Regions from separate parts of the Homo sapiens genome. Here region 1 is linked to region 2. The links are contacts of gene promoters, found by promoter capture Hi-C in human tissues and cell types (Jung and others, 2019). All regions are on one chromosome and are shown on one strand. The core of a region is centred on a gene start or on the middle of the fragment in contact, and the rest is flanking DNA. Distances in the headings are between cores, read along the strand shown. Region 1 overlaps PTPRA (protein tyrosine phosphatase receptor type A). Region 2 holds the start of NOP56 (NOP56 ribonucleoprotein).

Region 1 (3,583 bases), core at 44-2,543, 370 kb after region 2:
GGCACACCTCCCAGACGGGGTGGTGGCCGGGCAGAGGGGCTCCTCACTTCCCAGTAGGGGCGGCCGGGCAGAGGCGCCCCTCACCTCCCGGACAGGGCGGCTGGCCGGGCGGGGGGCTGATCCCCCCACCTCCCTCCCGGACGGGGTGGCTGGCCGGGCAGAGGGGCTCCTCACTTCCCAGTAGGGGCGGCCGGGCAGAGGCGCCCCTCACCTCCCGGACGGGGCGGCTGGCCGGGCAGGGGGCTGATCCCCCAACCTCCCTCCCGGACAGGGCAGCTGGCCGGGCGGGGGGGCTGACCCCCCCACCTCCCGGACGGGGCGGCTGGCCGGGCAGAGGGGCTCCTCACTTCCCAGTAGGGGCGGCCGGGCAGAGGCGCCCCTCACCTCCTGGACGGGGCGGCTGGCCGGGCGGGGGGCTGATCCCCCAACCTCCCTCCCGGACGGGGCGGCCGGCCGGGCGTGGGGCTGACCCCCCCACCTCCCTCCCGGACGGGGCGGCTGGCCGGGCGGGGGGCTGACCCCCCCACCTCCCTCCCGGACGAGGTGGCTGCCGGGCAGAGACGCTCCTCACTTCCCAGACGGGGTGGCTGCTGGGCGGAGGGGCTCCTCACTTCTCAGACCGGGCGGCTGCTGGGCGGAGGGGCTCCTCACTTCTCAGACGGGGCGGTTGCCAGGCAGAGGGTCTCCTCACTTCTCAGACGGGGCGGCCAGGCAGAGATGCTCCTCACATCCCGGACGGGGCGGCAGGGCAGAGGTGCTCCCCACATCTCAGACGATGGGCGGCCGGGCAGAGACGCTCCTCACTTCCTAGATGGGATGGCGGCCGGGCAGAGACTCTCCTCACTTTCCAGACTGGGCAGCCAGGCAGAGGGGCTCCTCACATCCCAGACGATGGGCGGCCGGGCAGAGACGCTCCTCACTTCCCAGACGGGGTGGCGGCTGGGCAGAGGCTGCAATCTCGGCGCTTTGGGAGGCCAAAGCAGGCTGCTGGGAGGTGGAGGTTGTAGCGAGCCAAGATCACGCCACTGCACTCCAGCCTGGGCACCATTGAGCACTGAGTGAACGAGACTCCGTCTGCAATCCCGGCACCTCGGGAGGCCGAGGCTGGCAGATCACTTGCGGTTAGGAGCTGGAGACCAGCCCGGCCAACACAGCGAAACCCCGTCTCCACCAAAAAAATACGAAAACCAGTCAGGCGTGGCGGCGCGCGCCTGCAATCGCAGGCACTCGGCAGGCTGAGGCAGGAGAATCAGGCAGGGAGGTTGCAGTGAGCCGAGATGGCAGCAGTACCGTCCAGCTTCGGCTCGGCATCGGAGGGAGACCGTGGAAAGAGAGGGAGAGGGAGACCGTGGGGAGAGGGAGAGGGAGAGCTGTTTTGTTTTGTTTTTTGAGACGGAGTCTCGCTCTGTCGCCCAGGCTGAAGGGCAGTGGTGCCATCTCGGCTCACTGCAAGCTCCGCCTCCCGGGTTCACACCATTCTTCTGCCTCAGCCTCCCGAGTACCACCCGCCACCACGCCCAGCTAATTTTTTGTGTTTTTTTTAGTAGAGACGGGGTTTCACTGTGTTAGGCAGGATGGTCTCGATCTCCTGACCTCGTGATCCACCCACCTCGGCCTCCCAAAGTGCTGGGATTATAGGCGTGAGCCACCACGCCCGGCCCACAGAGGAGCTTTTTTCCCCTGGTTTCTCTAGTTCCTTATTTCCCTGGTTTTCTGCCCCACCTGCTGAGGCCTTTGGTATATCCTGGATCAGCAGAGGGAGCTTTATGAACTGAGACCCTGCAAGCCAAAGGGAATTTGAGGCCTTGGCCTAATCCTGGAGGCAGCCTCCTAACTGGGCCTTTTCCTTTTGTGGCTACCAAGTGCATGCCTGGCCTAACCAGCTCTATCACTGGGCCACAGCCAGAGCCAATTCTGGGTCCTGGGGTCGAGCCCCAGCGAGGAATACCTATTTGTTACCGTGTTTCTCAAGGATGGCCCTTGAGTCACCTTGATCCTAGGGTATCGGGTGTCATGATCAACAGCTCCACAGTGGCATGGGAAGACAGTGCTAGGGCTGGGCTTTAGGTTAGTTTCCTCCAACCAAACCTCTTGCTCTTGGAAGCTATCCAAAGCTCAGGCAACAGAAAAAGCTCTAGGCCTCTCATGGCAGGTTTACAGTCTGCATCAGTCTACCCTGGTGGCCCCCTCATAGCAGACTGCTGGTTCGAGGGGTTCAAACAGGCTTTCTCCTAGAGCATGACCTGAAATGTTGTGAAAGTGCAGATTTTGTAGGTAAGATGGCTTCAGATTCGCCCTGAACCAAGGGAGTGTGGGTGGGAAACATTGAGAAGTATGGGGCTAGGGCTGTGTGTAAGTTAGGAGACTGTGCTCAATAGGATGGCGGCTAAGGAACTTGAGAAAAGGGCAAATTTGAATAAGTAAGTGTGCAACTGACTGAGATAGAGAAGAGGTCAAAGGGCCTTCTGGGGGACTTTAATCTGGGCTTTGTGGGCTCTTCCTTCCAGGCCCTTTGCATCTGCCATGGGCAGGAGGTCTAAGGTCAGGGAATGTATGTCTTTTTCTTTCCAGTGCAAGTGCGCCCAGTACTGGCCAGACCAAGGCTGCTGGACCTATGGGAATATTCGGGTGTCTGTAGAGGATGTGACTGTCCTGGTGGACTACACAGTACGGAAGTTCTGCATCCAGCAGGTAGTGTCTCCTCTGTCCTTTCTCAGTTCTTATGTTGGATCTGCTGACCAGTAAGAGGGAACAGGCTGGATCATCCCGCTGTGGTCAGGAGTTGCTGAGTATGCAGTATGTGAATTCTGAAACCAGATATCCGGGCTCAGGGGAACTTGTCTGTCAAAGCTAAAGGAGCAGTATTTTCATGACTGGTGAAAAATTACCTGTTGAGATGAAGTCTGATCATTTAGATATGACCAAGCACTGTGGAAAGGGAGCATGGGGAGGCAGTGCAGTCTCCTAGGTGCTTGACTCACCTTTCTCCTCCTTTCCTACTCCAAAGACTCCTGACATCAAGGATGTGATGGGCCTGCCCCTGGCCCTCCAGGCAACCCTGGAGACCTGAGCAAAGGTCACCTTCAGCCAAGGGGCAGTGTGGTACTGCGAAAAGAGGACTTAGCTGGGAGCACTGCATTTTAGTTCTGACCCTGCCACTGACTAGTTGTGAGACCTTGTGTCTGTGGTTAACTAACTCCCCTGGGTACACTTACTTTTCCATTGTCACTGACAACCACAGCTGTCACCTTCCCTCCCCTGGTACTGCCCACCCTTGGGTATCAGGGCCAACACACAGGATCTCCTCACTTCACAGGTGGGCGACATGACCAACAGAAAGCCACAGCGCCTCATCACTCAGTTCCACTTTACCAGCTGGCCAGACTTTGGGGTGCCTTTTACCCCGATCGGCATGCTCAAGTTCCTCAAGAAGGTGAAGGCCTGTAACCCTCAGTATGCAGGGGCCATCGTGGTCCACTGCAGGTCAGTGTGGCCTGACCCTTGTACCCCCACCCCCACATTTCGCCCCCATGGCCAGAGCAGGGGAACAGCACAAGGGCCCTGGCTGAGGAGGCTGGCACAG
Region 2 (3,428 bases), core at 402-2,901:
CCCGGGTTCAAGCGATTCTCCTTCCTCAGCCTCCCGAGTAGCTGGGATTACAGACATGCTCCACCACGTCCAGCTAATTTTTTTATTTTTTGGTAGAGACGGGGTTTCACCATGTTGGCCAGGCTGGTCTCGAACTCCTGATCTTAAGTGATCCGCCTGCCTCGGCCTCCTAAAGTGCTGGATTATAGCCCACCCAATCCTATTTTTTTAAATGCTGTCCATTAATGCATTCTGACTTCTTGCTTGAAAACCCCTGGTTTAGTGGATAAGCACCTGTAACTCCAGGAAGATTCAGGATTAAGGGCAGAAATAATGAAGTAAATTGAAGTATTAGCATTAGTATTTTCCATTACATTTTGGAATCGTCTATTTTGATGTATTCACGACGGTTAAAATAATTTAACATGCTAATGTATGGATTAACTTGGCAATTCCATTTTAAAATATTAAATGGAATAACGATTCTGACTCGTAAGTAGACATGTGTAACAGAATTCAACCACATCTGTAAACCATATTGAAATTATGAGAGTAAGATTTACCAACCACATTTAGGTTTGACATATTAGATTTGTGAGTGAACTATGTACTTGGATTTTGTCAAGTAACTCAATCGCTTAACAAAATAACAATTAAATGTATAAATGCAGTTTATAGCTATACATTATTTTTAAAAATCCCCTTCGAATGACTCTTTAAAACATACCAGGGGATACGCTACTTAAGTATAACTAGGTTTTGGATTTATAACGTTAATATTAATTATTAAAGCAAAACTCATTTCTAAAGAGTCGCCTGAGTGCCCAAAAGACGCCCTCAAGGACAGGGAAGCAGCTGCGATTCACTCAGCGATCACCAGCGCCCAGAATTCAGGGCCGCCCAAGCGGAGGAGCAACACGTGGCCCAGCAAAAGGAGCTGGGTCCCGTGCAGCACAGCAACAAGAAACTGGCCTAGGAAGACGCTGGAGCGTCTTTCTTTCGCACGTTACTGCCTGCTACAGTCATTTAAAAAAAAAAAACCAAAAACAAAAAAAAGAAATAAATTAATAGTACGAAGAAAACTGCGCGAGCTACATTCCCAGCAGGGTCTGCGCCAGAGCGCGCCAGGCACCGCTCCCGTTACGGGTGGGAGGAAAGGATGCACCGCCCACCCGGCGCCGGGGAGGCTCGTCCCCGAGTAGGGGACGGGAACGCCTGGGTCCCGGGGACGTGGGGCGCAGGGTCTGGGGCCCGAGGCCACGGACGAAGCGGGAAGCCGGCTAGGCAGCGGTCTCTGTCTGGGATGGACGCCGCGCCCCACGCGGACCTCCCGCCCCGACTTCACCCAGCTCTGCTGCCCGTAACTCATATGACAAGAACATCAGGAACCGGACTATTACCCCGAAAGGGCCTTCCCAAGTCGTTTCGCCGCCTGCAGTGCCCGACCGGGGGCCGCGCGTCCCCGGCAACCACGCCCGCCCGCGCAGCTGCAGAGGCCGGAAAAGGCCCGCTCGCCCGCGCTCGGCACCACCCAGCCCGCGCTCCGGGCGATACCACCCTGGGCGGCCCCTCCAAAGGCCGGAGATGGTGTCGTCCCCGGCCTCCGATTGGTCGGGGGGGCGGGGGCGTGGCCTCTGGAGCCTGGTTCCGCGCGCCGGAGCGCGCTAGCCGCATTGCGAGCCGAACCCGGGAGCTGGCGCCATGGTGAGGAGTGGTTGCGGGGCGCGGGCGACGCGACGGTGGGGGTTTCGGCCTGCGTTCGGGCCGCAGACAGGGCCTGGGCCTGGGCCTGGGCCTGCGCCTGCGCCTGCGCCTGCCCTGGGAACGGGTTCCGGCAGACGCTGAGGTTGCGTTGACGCTCGCGCCCCGGCTCCCGTTCCAGGTGCTGTTGCACGTGCTGTTTGAGCACGCGGTCGGCTACGCGCTGCTGGCGCTGAAGGAAGTGGAGGAGATCAGTCTGCTGCAGCCGCAGGTGGGTGAGATCCGTGGGCTCCTTTGGCGGCCCCGCAGACCCTCATCGCGCGGGTCCCAGCATGCACAGCGCGCTCCCACGTGGCCGGCCGAGCGGTTCGGGGCGGGGGGACGGGCCTGGAAAGCTCTAGATCCGGGGGTCTTTACCTTGACCCATGGGTAGAATCGCTCTAGCAATTAGAAATAAGCCTCCCGGACGCCGCCCCCGAACGATTAAAGCAGAAGCTGGGATGTGGGGCCCAGGTATCAGCATATTTTAAGAGCTTCCAAGGCTGAGAACCGCTGCTTGACTGCGCCGCAGAGGCAGGAGGGAGGGAAGGAAACCACTTAGCCTCTTTCTCCCCCCAGGTGGAGGAGTCTGTGCTCAACCTGGGCAAATTCCACAGCATCGTTCGTCTGGTGGCCTTTTGTCCCTTTGCCTCATCCCAGGTTGCCTTGGAAAATGCCAACGCCGTGTCTGAAGGTAAGTCGGCCACCGCCAAGTGTCACAGAGAGATGTGGTTCCTTTCGGTATCCTCTCGGGCAGCTTGTGATAGTATTTGCCGTCCTTGGCTGGCTCTGAGTCTGATAGGCGTGAGGCAGTATTTGAGCCATACAATGTGTAATTTGAAATAATTGTCTTCACAGAGCTCAAGGTCTGGGAACTGTGCTAGACCAAACTGTTTAAGCAGACGATGTGGAATGTGTGTTAACGTTTCCTTGTGGGCACTGTAGTGACAAACTATTTTTTATTTTTATTTTTTTTGAGATGGAGTCTGTCCCCCAGGCTGGAGTGCAGTGGCAAGATCTGGGCTCACTGCAACCTCTGCCTCCCTGGTTCAGGCGATTCTCCTGCCTCAGCCTCCCGAGTAACTGGGATTACAGGCCTGTGCCAGCCACCACACCCGGCTAATTTTGTATTTTTGGTAGAGACGGGGTTTCACCATGTTGGCCAGGCTAGTCTCCATCTCCTGACCTCGTGATCCGCCCGCCTCGACCTCCCAAGGTGCTGAGGTTGCAGGCGCGAGCGACGGTGCCCGGCCGACAAAGGGGGGTTTCTTAAAGGGGGTCGGCTTAACACCTACTTGTGCCTGAGGTTTTGCCTAAACACAATCAAGTGTCTGGTTCTCTGCTTTCTGTTCGATTGGAAAGGGCAGTTGGGTAAACACAGGCTGAGAAAAAAAGGTTTGGTTCCAGAAGGCAAATTCTACGAAATACTCGAGGGTGTGTTACAAGCTATTATTTATTGCCCACTTGTGCTATCAGACCTGAATGCAGTTGTTCCCATGGCTGGGCCAGGCTTTGCAGTGATGACTTGCGAATCAAATCTGTCAATCCCCTGAGTGCAATCACTGATGTCTCCATGTCTCTGAGCAATGCCTGATGGGGAGGGATCTAGGTATGCCATCCCAGCGTGCTCGGTGGGACCAGGGTAGTCAGCTGAGGGATGTTAGAGTTGATCGTCCTTCAGCCTGTTAGTGGGAACTGTGTTCTTTCCC

The links. Contacts are between HindIII fragments. The study calls those that stand out against the background at their distance.
Region 1: a contact is called between a fragment that was not itself captured here and the fragment with the promoter of NOP56 in region 2, in 1 of the 25 tissues and cell types used here (IMR-90 fibroblasts).

What each region holds. Positions count from the first base shown.
Region 1 is chr20:3,018,738-3,022,320 of GRCh38, forward strand. It overlaps PTPRA (protein tyrosine phosphatase receptor type A), which reads left to right. Exons shown (of 24, transcript NM_001385305.1): 14 at 2,572-2,691; 15 at 3,317-3,483. Among named protein-coding and RNA genes, the nearest start is that of GNRH2, 23 kb to the right of the region's middle. The HindIII fragment of the contact is 8,052 bases long and covers 1-3,583 here.
Region 2 is chr20:2,650,981-2,654,408 of GRCh38, forward strand. NOP56 (NOP56 ribonucleoprotein) reads left to right here and starts at 1,652. Exons shown (of 12, transcript NM_006392.4): 1 at 1,652-1,683; 2 at 1,862-1,951; 3 at 2,299-2,413. The coding sequence starts at 1,681. MIR1292 (microRNA 1292) reads left to right here and starts at 1,797; the gene lies at 1,797-1,862. LOC105372505 (a long non-coding RNA gene) reads right to left here and starts at 1,484. Exons shown (of 5, transcript XR_007067502.1): 1 at 1,380-1,484. SNORD110 (small nucleolar RNA, C/D box 110) reads left to right here and starts at 3,232; the gene lies at 3,232-3,306. RefSeq lists a silencer at 1,136-1,775 and an enhancer at 2,276-2,365. The HindIII fragment of the contact is 12,812 bases long and covers 1-3,428 here.